2 separate regions of the Homo sapiens genome follow, and region 2 is linked to region 1. Evidence: promoter capture Hi-C in 16 types of primary human blood cells and fetal thymus (Javierre and others, 2016). All regions are on one chromosome and are shown on one strand. The core of a region is centred on a gene start or on the middle of the fragment in contact, and the rest is flanking DNA. Distances in the headings are between cores, read along the strand shown.

What was found. The method cuts DNA at HindIII sites, captures the fragments that hold promoters and counts their contacts. A CHiCAGO score of 5 or more calls a contact.
Region 2: a contact is called between a fragment that was not itself captured here and the fragment with the promoter of AKNAD1 in region 1, in 1 of 17 cell types (M2 macrophages). The highest score is 5.0, in M2 macrophages.

Annotation. Positions count from the first base shown.
Region 1 is chr1:108,853,087-108,860,182 of GRCh38, reverse strand. It overlaps AKNAD1 (AKNA domain containing 1), which reads left to right and starts at 3,089. Exons shown (of 16, transcript NM_152763.5): 1 at 3,089-3,254. SPATA42 (spermatogenesis associated 42) reads right to left here and starts at 2,966. Exons shown (of 3, transcript NR_034168.1): 1 at 2,682-2,966; 2 at 1,916-2,025; 3 at 1,659-1,798. The HindIII fragment of the contact is 6,949 bases long and covers 2,257-7,096 here.
Region 2 is chr1:108,889,516-108,896,611 of GRCh38, reverse strand. The region is part of intron 2 of GPSM2 (G protein signaling modulator 2); the gene reads right to left. Among named protein-coding and RNA genes, the nearest start is that of GPSM2, 16 kb to the right of the region's middle. The HindIII fragment of the contact is 3,859 bases long and covers 1-3,601 here.

The sequences.
Region 1 (7,096 bases), core at 1,840-4,339:
GTTCTAACGGGAAAATAAAAGTTACCTGTAATCCTACCACATGTTTTGAGATTCATTCTATAGATATTTCTTCTAATATGAAAATAGACTTTTAATCAAAATCTTAACTTTTTGAAATCATTTTGAGGAGCATAGATTAGGTATCAATGTGCAATATATTTAACCTTGTATTCATTATTTTAAAAAATTATAATTACAAGTCAATGTTCTTCCTTTAGGCAGGGGGAGGAGGGCGGAGGAGAGAAGCATAAGTCTTTGGTTAAGGGAGGAAGGGTTTTCCTAAAATATTCTGGCCCTTCTTATCTCCAGGAGGAGGTTGCAAAACTTAAGTTTGAAAGTTTAGGGAAGGGCAGAGACGTTTCAGGGACAAGATTAAAAACAAATTATACTTATTCGAGGCTGGGTATGGTGGCTCATGCCTGTAATCACATCACTTTGGGAGGCTGAGGAGGAGGATCGCTTGAACCCAGGAGTTCGAGATGAGCCTGGGCAACCTAGCATGATCCTGTCTCTACAAAAAAAAAAAAAAAAGAAAAAAAGAAAAAAAAAATTAGCCAGGTGTGGTGGTATATGCCTGTGGTCCCAGCTACTCGGGAGGCTGAGACAGGAGGATTGCTTGAACCCAGGAGGTAGAGGCTGTGGTGAGCCATAATCATGCCACTGTACTCCAGCCTGGGACACAACAAGACTCTATCTTTACAAAATAAATAAATAAATAAAATTTAAAAATTATACTTCTTTGGCTGGGTGTGGTGGCTCATGCCTGTAATCCCAGCACTTTGGGAGGCCGAGGCAGGTGGGTTATGAGGTCAAGAGATCAAGACCATCCTGGCCAACATGGTGAAATGCTGCCTCTACTAAAAATACAAAAATTAGCTGGGCTTGGTGGCACGTGCCTGTACTCCCAGCTACTCGGGAGGCTGAGGTGGGAGATGGCGTGAACCTGGGTGGCGGATGTTGCAGTGAGCCAAGATTGCGCCACTGTACTCCAGCCTGGTGACAGAGTGAGACTCTCTCTCAAAAAAAAAAAAAAAAAAAAAAAAAGACATTATACTTCTTTAAATCAATGTGTTTTAAAGTTTATCACTGGAATTACTTTCAGAAAATTAATTGGTAAGAGTTTTCTAAATGTTCCCAAAGCACAGCAAAGGTCCGTGGTTTACAGCACACACTAGGCTACATCAATGGGAAAATTGGATAAAAAGACAGGGCTAACCTCACCAAAGAGCAAGGAAAACCAGCAAAGTTTTCTGGTAAAACACAGGCAGGAAGTTTCTCCAAATACTGCTTTACTCGCACTTTTAAAAGGCTTTCCTCCCTTCCCCCCAACTTCTAAAATAGTTTCAGGATAACAAATTTGTAACAGCTGGTCATCAAATTCATGCGCACTCCCAAAAGGACGACAGCCCTAAGACTGACTATAAATAATACATCCATCTGGCTCTTGTAGGAGTATTGGATTGACTTGTTGCCCATCACAGTGTCTCCCTTCTGCCACCCCACAATGACAGGGTGAAGCTAGACAGCCTCACTGAATGGTATATGGTTACAGTTGAGGCACTGCATTGTGGGTACCCCACATTTCTGAGATAAAGTTAGCTGATAGAATTACCAGAGCATAATCAAATGCAGTCATTACAGAGGGAGCCTATATCATGTTACCTTTGAAAATATTTTAATCTAGAAACATCATACACTGTATACAAAATTCATGAATCCCTGACGCCTGGGCGTGGCCTTGGACATATTATTCTGAGCCATCTCCTATTTTCTTTCATATGTAAATGTTATTCTTGAGCTAGGAATAGGAGAGAAAGAGAAAATTGAAACAGCCAGACCAAGTGTTTTTGAATGCTCTTAAAAGACAAAAAAAAAAAAAAAGACAAAAGTTTGTATCACATCAGAAGTTCCCTACGTGCTCTTCAAAGCTGATTGCTTGCAGTTAAAAGAACCCAGAAGAAGCAGGCACGCCATGATTTTGAAGCTCCGTTTTTGTTCTGTTATTCAACTGCAGTCAACTTCCAACTGTTGAAAAAAAGATGATTTAGAATTAAAGGGTTGCTTGTCTGTGTCGCAAGGCCCTTCAACTTGTTCACCTGTGATATCCAGAGACTCCAAGATGTTGGTGAGTTTCTATTGCAATTGCCATATTGCCATGGTTTTGCCCTTTGTGTTGACTGTAGCATTGTGCTGTTTGAAGACAGAGCAGCATACTGCTTTGTGTAGTAAAAATTGATGGATAATGTACTTAAAGCTTTTAGATGTACACTATTCACATTCTAAATGACAGATACAAAAAGGAATAATCAGAATTTAGATTGTTGAATCATTGCCTCCAACAGCCAACTCTTACCGTGACAAAGTCAGTAGGGCTGATCTTAGAAGTGTAGGACTTGTGAGTGTTACGTGGTTGTACTAACTGGTACCTTAGTGGAGGGGCAGATAAGGTAAGTAGAAACAATGCCTGCTTTCTCCTCCATGTCTGGGTCCTACACATAGTCCCCAGTTTGCCTGGTTTGTAGAGGTTTAAACACAGAACAGAGGGTGTTGGGAATGAGACAAAGAGATTGTCACAGGAACATGGACCCACGGTTTTCCTTTGGTGATGAAAACAATCCTGTCAATATGGAAAACTGTGTTATCACAAAATGGGCTTAGCGAATAGAAGAAATGTCACCTACCAGCCGGAAACAACAATTCGCTGACCATCTTTGGCCTCTTGCCACTAAGGAGTTTTGGTTTTCCCATCTGTAGAAATTCTTAATTGAGTCCATCAGATTCCCAGTCATCCTAGCCATGGTTACCTTCTTCTCTAAGTTGGCAGGTTAGTGAGCTTAGGCTAGCACTTCAGCATCAAATTTAGACTTCATAATAAAGTAAATCACACAGGGAATAGCTGTCAGCATGGTGACCACCTTGTTGTCCATTCCTACTCAGGGACTGGCCTGAAGTGTTTTCACAGCCTGGGTCACTGTGATGTCCTGGCCCTGTTTGCTCAAAGTGTTCATCTCAGAGTGACTTGTGAGGTATTGCTGAGCACATAATGGTCAAGATAGCTGCATAAGCAGGCGTGGCCCCAAATGTAGTCACCTGACTTCAGAAAATCAATTTGGATTCTACAGAAAGGTTCTGTTGGATTCTGAGTGGAACCTCTTTGGATATGCCTTTGGATTTCAAGATTGAGCCAAGTGTTGACATGGGAAGATGCTCCAGTTCCTCCAGTTATCTCAAAGAAGCTCATTACCTTGCTAAGGGTATGGATTGTCCTTTTCCAGAAAAAATCCTCTTGATATTTTGCATGCACACATGCAAAAAATAATAACAACAGAAGCTGTTTTCCTGTATGTAATGAGAGTGTTCCTCAGGTTTCTGGTTTATCTTAATGGTATCTCACTCCTTTTCTTTTCCTTTCTTTCTTTCTTTGTCTGTGTGTGTGTTTGTGTGTGTGTGTTTATGTGTGTGTGAGAGAGAGAGAGAGAGACAGGGTCTTGCTCTGTCACCCAGGCTGGAGTGCAGTGGCATGATCTCTGCTCACTGCAGCCTTGACCTCCTGGGCTCAACTGATCCTCCATCTCAGCCTCCCAAGTTGCTGGGACTACAGGCATATACCACCACTGCTGGCTAATTTTTAATTTTTTTTTTCTTTGTAGAGACAGGGTCTTGCTTTGTTGCCCAAGCTGTTCTCAAACTCCTGTCCTCAAGGAATCCTTCTGTTTTGGCATCCCAAAGTGCTGAGATTACAGGCATGAGCCACTGTGCCTGGACTTTTTTTCTTTTTCTTGAGAGCCAGAGCAAAATTCAAATTTTATCAGTTTTAATTAATTATATTTTAAAAGTGGGAATTTGGCCAACAAAGTATCTTTCCTTTCTATACAAGAAGGGTATGGCGTTTGGCAATGAGCTCCTGAAAATGTAAAGAAAGCATGAGGATAACTTTGGGACTGATACTTGGGTCATTAAAAGTCTTGCAAAACTAGAATTTGTTTTCTTCTTCTTCCATTCTCTCTGTAGGCATTTAAACATACTCTCAGGCCAGGCACAGTGGCTCATGTCTGTAATCCCAGCACTTTGGGAGGCTGAGGCAGGTGGATTACTTGTGCTCAGGAGTTCGAGACCGTCCTGAATAACATGGTGAAACTCCATCTCTAAAAAAAAAATTAAAAATTAGTCAGGTGTGGTGGTGTGCGCCTGTAGTCCCAGCTACTCAGGAGGCTAAGGGAGGAAGATCAGTTGAGCCATGGTGTTGTCACTACACTCCAGCCTGGGTGATAGAGTGAGACCTTGTCTAAAAAAAAAAAAAAAAAGATACTCTGTTTTTTTTTGTTCTAAAAAATTAGACAATATTTTGTTTAAACTTGCTTAGTGATTTATTTATTTATTTATTATTTTTTATTTTTTTGAGACAGAGTCTTGCTGTTGCTCAGGCTGGAGTACAGCGGCATGATCTCGGCTCACTGCAACCTCTGCCTCCCGGGTTCAAGTGATTCTCCTGCCTCAGCCTCCCAAGTAGCTGGGACTATAGGGATGCACCACCATGCCCAACTAATTTTTGTATTTTTAGTAGAAATGGGTTTTGCCACATTGGCCAGGCTGGTCTTGAACTACTGAGCTCAAGTGATCCACCTGCCTCAGCCTCCCAAAGTGCTGGGATTACAGGCATGAGCCACCTCATCCAGCCTGATTTTTTTTTTTACCTTCAAATATATTTATTTACAGATTGAGTTTTAAAATTGTCTTAAAGTTCTTGTAGAGATTATGTCTTTTTTGTTTTGAGACGGAGTTTCACTCTATCGCCAGGCTGGAGTGCAGTGGCGCGATCTTGGCTCACTGCAACCTCTGCCTCCCGGGTTCAAGTGATTCTCCTGCCTCAGCCTCCTGACTAGCTGGGACTACAGGTGTGCGCCACCACGCCCAGCTAATTTTTTGTATTTTTAGTAGAGACGGGGTTTCACCATGTTGGCCAGGATGGCCTCCATCTCTTGACCTCGTGATCCACCTGCCTCGGCCGCCCAAAGTGCTGGGATTACAGGCATGAGCCACCTTGCTTGGACGAGATTATGTTTTACATATGCAATTCCTTCCTTTATCCTTTAAATATCCCCACGGATAAGGAGTGCCTCACCTCTGGACCTGGGCATTCTTCAGTATTCCAATACTGAGACTGGTTTTGTTTTTTCATTTTTCAACAACAATGTATGGAATTCTTACTCTGTGCCAAGCCCTATGCCGAGTACTTTAGTGCCTTATTTCAGGTATTGCTAGTCCTATTTCTCAGAAAAGGCAACCGAGACTCACAAGAGTTAAATAACTTGCCAGATGACACACAGCTAGAAAGCAGAGAAGCCAGAGTATTCAGATCCATGCCTCTCCACTTCTGCTTTCCCACTGTGCCTTTCACTTTCTTGGGAAGCCTTTTCCCTTGTTCTTCAACTTGGATTAGAATAGCCTGTAATTCTTCTCATGAAGACATGCCTCACTTTATACTAAATGTTACCCTCTTTAAATGATTTAAAATAATCCTGCAGTGATATTCTCCTTTCTCTCCACCTCTCTAAACAGAGCATCTGTTTAATTTGGGTTCTCTAACATTGGCATGTGTCTATAAATTAAGATTTTTGTACAATGTCTCACAGATGCTTTTACCACATTTAGTTTGTACTCCTTTTTTTCTTGGACGACTTAGTTCAAAAAAATTTATTTTGGTCAAACATATGATTTTAGCTTTTGAGGTTACCTAATAAATCACCAGCTTATAGACTCATAAAAATTTGGTTGGAGAGAGAACCTCAGAGATCTGCTCACCCAACATAATCATTGTATGGGCAAGGGAGGCTGCCAGCAGCTGTGGTCACCCTGGGCTGGTGCTCCAGGGGAGAGGGAATCTCAGTTACTCTACTTAAAACTTGAGATTACTACTTCTGAGGAATCATCCCAAAAGTTCACAAATCAGGAAGAGATATCTGAATGGGTGCTTTAAATTTTGTTTAAAAAAGAGAAAATAGGACTCATACCAAATGGCAGCTGGTTTTACTCCAGCCATTTTCAGGAATATCCCCAAAGAGTCTGGTACCACCAGACCGCCGCCTGGGCTGTGGTGGCTGGCAGGGGTTGTTCAGGGAAGGCAGCCTCTCTGACTAGGTTCCTGCCTGAGTCCAAATTAGAAAAGGGACATTTGGCTGCAGACTGGCCTCCAGGTGTTTGAAAGCCTATTTGTCCCTTGGTCACATTTCTTTTTTTTTCTTTTTTTGAGACGGGGTCTCTCTCTGTCACCTAGGCTGGAGTGCAGTGGCTTGATCTCGGCTCACTGCAACCTCTGCCTCCCAGGTTCAAGCGATGCTCCTGCCTCAGCCTCCCAAGTAGCTGGGACTACAGGTGCTTGCCACTACACCTGACTAACTTTTTGTATTTTTAGTACAGATGGGGGTTTCGCCATGTTGGCCAGGCTGGTCTCGAACTCCTGACCTCAGGTGATCCGCTTGCCTCAGCCTCCCAAAGTGCTGGGATTACAGGTGTGAGGCACCGTGCCCGGCCCCTTGGTCATATTTCTGTAAGTCCTTCTCTGCCCTTCTCAGACATGCAAGGGAAAGTCAGGAGAAGGGGACCAGAAGGTCTGGAGGGACAGGTGAAAAGGCACCAGAATGGAGAAGGTGGGTGTTACATGTGAGCTAGGCCAGCTTCCATCGCCACATGGCTTAGAAGACTGTCAGTGACACGTGGACAAGGCGTGGCTCTGGTAGTTAAAAAAAAAATCAGGCCGGGCGCGGTGGCTCACGCCTGTAATCCCAGCACTTTGGGAGGCCAAGGCGGGTGGATCACGAGGTCAGGAGATGAAGACCATCCTGGCTAATATGGTGAAACCCCATCTCTACTAAAAATACAAAAAATTAGCTGGGCGTGGTGGCGGGCACCTGTAGTCCCGGCTGCTCGGGAGGCTGAGGCAGGAGAATGGGGTGAACCTGGGAGGTGGAGCTTGCAGTGAGCCGAGATTGTGTCACCGCACTCCAGCCTGGGCGACAGAGCGAGACTCCGTCTCAAAAAAAAAAAAAGAAAAAAGAAAAAAAATCAATCCTTTACTTGCATCCCAAGTTCCTACTTT
Region 2 (7,096 bases), core at 423-2,922, 38 kb before region 1:
ATTGGCCCAGAGCAATCCACGTTACTAGTGAAAGAGCCTAAAGCAGTATTTCCCAAACAATTCTGAGTTGTAACAGACCTCTGGACTTCCTTAGAGTCTGAGAAGATGAGTATGTAGGAAAGTGAGGCCCTACAATTATTAATATTGTTCTCTACCCAGGTATCCAAGTAATCTAGTCACCTGTTCATCAGCCCCTCTGACCATCCAGCCATCCATCCCTCGCTCTCTCTCTCATACACACACAACACACACTCACTCTCCTTCCTCTTCTTACCACCACATGTCCACTTATACCCTAGAAAAATAGAGGAACAAAATATTCTTGATCTGTAAGACACATTTTCACAAGAGAACTAGGTGTCAAGAAACTAAGTTAGAAAACAATGATTCAAAAATTTGCAGAAATACTAATTTTGAAAGTCTGTCCCTGAATTGAAAAAGAAGGATTAAGTCACTGTAAACATATCTGGGAGAAAAAAACACTGATACTTTGGATTCAAATCCTAAATTTTAGAGGGTGCCCTTCACCAAAGTTGCCATTGTGTTTCTTCAGCATCTTCATGATTTCTGCCATATGTAGGAACTACCTATTCGTTTAATTATTTCTGTAATTTGGCAAATTTCCTTTAAATTGGCACACTATCTTTAACTTATCATTTTAAAAAAATGGAGCTTCATCCAAAGCAGTACTCATGAAACTGTGAATTTGATACGATACTTATATGTATATTCTAATACAACGGTCTCCAATCTTTTTGGCACCAGGGGCCGGTTTTGTGGAAGACAATTTTTCCATGGACGGGTGGCAGGGGATTGTTTTGGGATGATTCAAGTGCATTACATTTATTGTGTACTTTATTCCTCTTGTTACTATACATTCACCATAATGTACAATCAGTGGGAGCCCTGAGCTTGTTTTCCTGCAACTAGATGGTCTCCTCTGGGTGTGACTGGAGACAGTGACAGATCATCAGGCATTAAACTCTCATAAGGAATGTGCAATCTGGATCCCTCGAATGTGCAGTTCACAATAGGGTTTGCACTCCTATGAGAATCTAATGGTACTGCTGATCTGACAGGAGGCGGAGCTCAGGTGAAAATGCTCACTCGTCCTGCCCACCTGCAGCTTACCTCCTAACAGGCTACAACAGTACTGGTCTGTGGCCCAGGGGTTGGGAACCCCGTTCTAATACACATTAAACAAATATGAAATTATTAAAATCTAAAAGTGAGTAAAGTTACCTTATGTACCACCAGTGGCATACATATCACTCTTTGAGAAGCTCTGATTAAGCTCATCAAATGTTTTAATTTTTGGAACAGCATTAAGTTACTCCTTACTAGAATGAGCTTTGAGCCACTCCAATAGAGCAGTTGTTCTTAATGCTGGCTGTACAACAGCAGAGCTCACCTGGAGCACTTTCTAAAACTCCCAACGCTGAACTCCACCCTCTGGGTGATGTCTGGCCACCTGTATTTTTTTAAAGCCCCAGGTAATTCTAAAGTACAAGTTAGGGTTGAGAATCAGTGCTTTTATAAGAAATGTGAATTAAACCACCACCCACCCTAATATCATTCAAATATGATTATACTCTGTATATCTAGTGGTAGATCAATTAACATGTTTTTGTGAGTGCTGTTTTTCAGTCTGCAAAATTTCAAGGGTCCTTAGAGCCATAAATTAAAATGGGATTGTAAAGTAGAAAATGTACCTGATGAAGCTAAAAGCCTGGACAAAGATAAACTGAGCCAATTGTAAAGGTTCAAAGCAGACTTCTGGTTTAGAACAAGCAGATATATGTAGCCAATTCCAATAGGTAATTTTCAAGTTTTCTATCTAGGTATCTTTTTTTTTTTTAAGAATTCAAATGACTTAGCCAATGGCTACTGCTTGCTCATCTTCACTTTTTTTTTGAGACACAGTCTCTCACTGTCACTCAGGCTGGAGTGCAGCAGTACAATCTTGGCTAACTGCAACCTCTGCCTCCTGGGTTCAAGTGATTCTCGTGCCTCAGTCTCCTGAGCAGCTGGGATTACAGTCATGTGCCATCATGCCTGGCTAATTTTTGTAATTTTAGTAGAGACAGGGTTTTGCCATGTTGGCCAGGCTGGTCTCAATCTCCTGACCTCAAGCAATCCACCCATCTTGGCCTCCCAAAGTGCTGGGATTACAGGTGTGAGCCACCATGGCTGGCCCCATCTTCACTTTATGGATCTATGCAAAATAATGCAGGTAAACCTCCAACATTTTGCTACAATATTAGACTACAAGCCAATTAGATACAGGAGAGAAGATCTAAAATACATAGTAAGATAAGCAGTTAAATCAGAAACCTTAAACAGCTATATTTATGTTTCTTTATATGTCACTTCACAATTAATAAAGCCTATTTTTGCCTTCCAAAAATGAAAACTGCCCTTTAGAATTGTATTTCTGAAAATGAGATATTTCATAAAAGAAAAAATTGAGTATATCTGTTTAAGATTTTATGAAGTTATTGTCATATTCTATGTATAAAGATAAATAAATCAACAAAAGATATATAAAAATGTAATTTTTTTTTTCTTGAGATGGAGTCTCACTCTGTCACCCAGGCTGGAGCGCAATGGCTCACTGCAACCTCCGCCTCCTGGGTTCAAGCAATTCTTCTGCCTCAGCCTCTTGAGTAGCTGGGATTACAGGCATGCACCACCGTGCCCAGCTAATTTTTGTATTTTTAGTAGAGATGGGGTTTCATCATGTTGGCCAGGCTGGTCTCCAACTCCTGACCTCAGGAGATCCGCCTGCCTCAGCCTCTCAAAGTGCTGGGATTACAGGCGTGAGCCACTGTGCCCAGTCAAAATGTGATTTTTATTAAAGGATTATTTTGCTAGATGAAGTACCTGAACTGGTTGTCTTTATTTGTCAAAAACTGAAACCAATGAATTTCTAAGAAATATTATTTAAAAAAATGGAAAAGATATTTTTATTTGTAAAATAATTCTTTTCCTACAAAAAGTTTTTAATTTAAGCATTCTAAATTATGTTAAAAATTATATCTCAAGCATTTTCAGTGCTAAGAATTGATCTTAAGGTATACTTACACAAATTTAAGAAGATACATATGAAAGGATATTCACAGCAGCAAAAAAACCACAAATGAATTAAATGTCCACCAATAGAGTACTGGGTAAAAAAAATTACACGCCACTATACAATGGATTACTAATGATGGCGCATCATTTCACTGAGGGGGAAGTGAGGAAATGGTCACACATGACAGCACCATCAGTTCAGGATGACTGGGTTGCTGGCCGGGAAATTAGGAATAAGGCAGAACTGGCTATTCATGTGAACAACATTTAAAAATCGGAAGTATAAAAGTGTTTGCCAATATTCATATAAAACTGAGAAGTATCTTCTTCAAATAAATAACTTCACCACAAATGACTGATCTTCTGGATTTAAGTTTACAGAACATTTTACTGGAACCATTGATCCAAATGATGTGGCATCCCACAAAACTTAGCTATAGATTGAATGGCATCGTAAGTGTTACACGTTTTTAAAAAGGCATTTTACATAATTGTCATAAGAAACAATACTAGCAAACTGGAAGCTTGCTGGCTACATGGCTGTCCTTGAAGTCCATGTAGTGAGAATGCCCTACAGGAGAGACTATCTTAGAAAAGTTATTCCAGTGACTAATACCTGAAATAATGTCCCAAACACTCTAGTTTATGATTAATTCTTAGATAGATTCAGGCTCTGGTGTATTTTATTAGAAAATAAGTTAATATTCTGGCAAAAATCTCTAACACCTGAATCAAATATAGATTTATGCCTGCAAAATAGGGCAGCTTGGTTTATAAATTTTTTAGAAGATCATTAAATAGTAACAGAGAAAGTAATTTCATATCCTCTCTGTCACTATGAGAGAATAGAATTACTTCCTTTGTTTACCAGTTGGGTTGAAAACAAAGAACATACCCACATGTAGAAGAAAAACCAAGAACATACCCCTCCATTAAAATTCATCCCACATACAAAGTTTCCTTTATGCTTCTGAGAGCCTATCTAGCTGTATAATCAAAGAAAATATGTTTCTAATAAACTTCAAATAGACACAGTACTACTATCCTTAACTGACGTGTTTTCATTTTTGCTAATAGAGTGAACATTTTAGCTAGAATTTCTCATTTTCTGTGCAAACTCATGTCATTTCAATTTTTCTTTTAATTTTTAACTTCTCTTCCACACTAGATTTTGCACTTGACTATTATCCTCTTTACCTCCTTAAATTTGTTTCGTGTTCACAGGACGTCAGTGAATGCAAAACATAAAACCATGATGCTACATCTTTCTAAAAGACTTAATAACATCAATTTTGTCCAGATTTGACTCTTGCTTCAAAGGGCTTACATACTATTTAAGAATAAATGATGGAATTCAGGACTTAAGAGGCAAAATAAGACTACTCTCCATTTTCTCTATTATGCTTTCCATTTCTGTGGTTGTGTGATCTTCTTTCATAAATCCTAGCTCTACCTTCTCTGTATTCTAATTGGGCATGAACCTTTTCCATCACCAGTGCTAGCCCCAATAAACAAATTTCATCCATTCAATTTACCACATATATCTAGCTGTTCTCATTTATTATGTAAAAGGAAAAGTAGTGCTCAATTGATTTACATTTGTATGGTTAGATGATTAATAATATAGAATAAGAAGGAAGAAAATGATTAAAAAACAAAAATTTGTATGGTAATTTAGTTTTAAAAGTGATTTTAACCTTTATCAAACTTAATTCTCAAAATAACCCTCTGAGGCTGGGTGCAGTGGCTCATACCTGTAATCCCAGCACTTGGGAGGCTAAGGGGGGGTGGATCGCTTGAGCCCAGGAGTTCGAGACCAGCCTGGGCAACATGGCAAAACCCCATCTCCACCAAAAAAAAAAAAAAAAAAAATTAGCTGGCTGTGGTGGCATGCACCTGTAGTAGTCCCAGCTACTCGGGAGGCTGAGGTGGGAGGATAGCTTGAGCCCAGTAGGCAGAGGGTGCAGTAAGCTAAGATCACACCTCTGCAATCCAGCATGGGTGACAGAGCCAGACCCTATCTCAAATAAAATAAAATAAAAATAACCTTCTAAGATAGGTATTGCTACAGAAGGAGAAAGTGATGCTGAGACAGGTTAAATGACTTGCTTAAGGTCATGGGATGTCAAAGTTGAGATATGAAAATTTATCTTTGTCTCCAAATCCAGTGGTCTTTCCATCACTCCATGTTACCTTAAACTACTCAAGAAAGCACATTAACAACTACATTGAGCTAACAAAATTAAAGAATTCAACACCATATCTGTATTCCTTCACAACTTACATGCAAGAATCTAACTTTTACAATATTAAAGTATTAAAATGCTTATTATTCACAGTAAGAAGTATAAATGACATTTTCCAAAGAAACACAAAACCAGAGGAACTAGTGTAACAAACCCAATGTATCCATCTTTCAACGTCAATAATTACACATATATAATCAATATATTATTTATTCATCTCTACTCTGATCGTTACTCTTCCAACCCCAGATTGGTCTGAAGTACATTCCGGAAAGCATATGATTTAATTTGTAAATACCTTAGTATGTATCTTTAAAAGATTAATCTTTTTCAAAAAATACAATCACAATACCATTATCACACATAAAAAATTAATAATTCCTTAAAAATCAACCATATAATTTTTTTTTAACTTAAATTGTACTTGCTATCAGTCTCTACCTTTTGAAATAGGTGCAAAATATTTCAATAAAGCATTCTGATGTCCCCTTAGGAGGTTACTTAGTGTTCCAAGAAACATTCCATTCAAAATTACAAATTCATTGTGCCACAGAAACTCCTCCAGGGATAGAGGAGGACCTCCACAATGGAAGAACCAGATGGATAAAACATTTCATAAGGATTTACTATAGCAGAAGAATAACTTATACCAGCCTATGGCCTAACATAAAGAGTTCAAATCATTACCCCCAATTATACGACAATCCAATCAATATACAGAATGCTGGTCTTAGAGCACTGATAAAGCCAGAGATTTGTTTGGTATAGTCCTATTACAGACAGTACAGATTTTTAAGTTTCCCTTGGTGAAGTCCTATAGCAAAGTGCAACCATGTTTGATCTAGACTGTATCACAGAAAAAGGACAATTCTAAGATCTTCCAACAGGCAGAGGTACAAGCCATTCCTACTTATCTACTGTTCTTACCATATTAGAAAGCACAATACTATTCAAAACATTTAGCAAGACAGATAAACATCTTATTACGTTCATATTCCATTGAAGTTCAATATGTGCCAGACAACATGCTAATTATCATGGCTGCTGAGGAGTGACCACAGCTGAGGAGCTAATGCTCAAAGGGAGAGGTGAGGAGGAAGGGAGCACCATAAAAACAGATTAACTTAATTTTAATACAGTTGGTGCTAAGAAAGAAAAATGCACAGATTGTAATATGAGCACACGGAGGCCACAGAGCCTAACTATGGAGCTTAGAAATGGTTTCCAGGAGGAGATAATCTCCGAGCTGTATCTTAGAGTAGAATTAGCTAAACAAAGAAAGTGGGAAGGGAGTTCAACATAGGGCATAGCATGAGCAAAGACACTGAAATATAAAACAGCATGACATGCAGGAAACCAGAGCTCAAAGTGCAAGGTGAAGAATGGCAGGAAGTAAGGTCCCAGGAATAGGCAGAAGCCAGATAATGAAGATCTTGTGTTCTATGTTCAGCTTGGCCGGGTGACTAGGAGCCACCCTAGGTATTAAGCAGAGAGGTTGCACGGTTAGCTCTGTGTTTTGAGATTGAGCCCACTAGTGACAAGTCAAAACGACGGGTTCCAAGAGGTGAAGAATGGAGGCAGTCTGGAAAGAAGATCCTGAGGATCTCAATTATAGCTATGGCGGTGTAAAAAGTAAAGTAAAGGTTCCTCTTCAAAGACTTTCCTCCCCATCTAATTAGGAATAAATAGTATTTATTCCTTAGACGCAAAATTTATTCAAAGAACTGTGTTAACATTCTTAAATATCTGCTAGCGGTAATAAGGAAATCAATGTA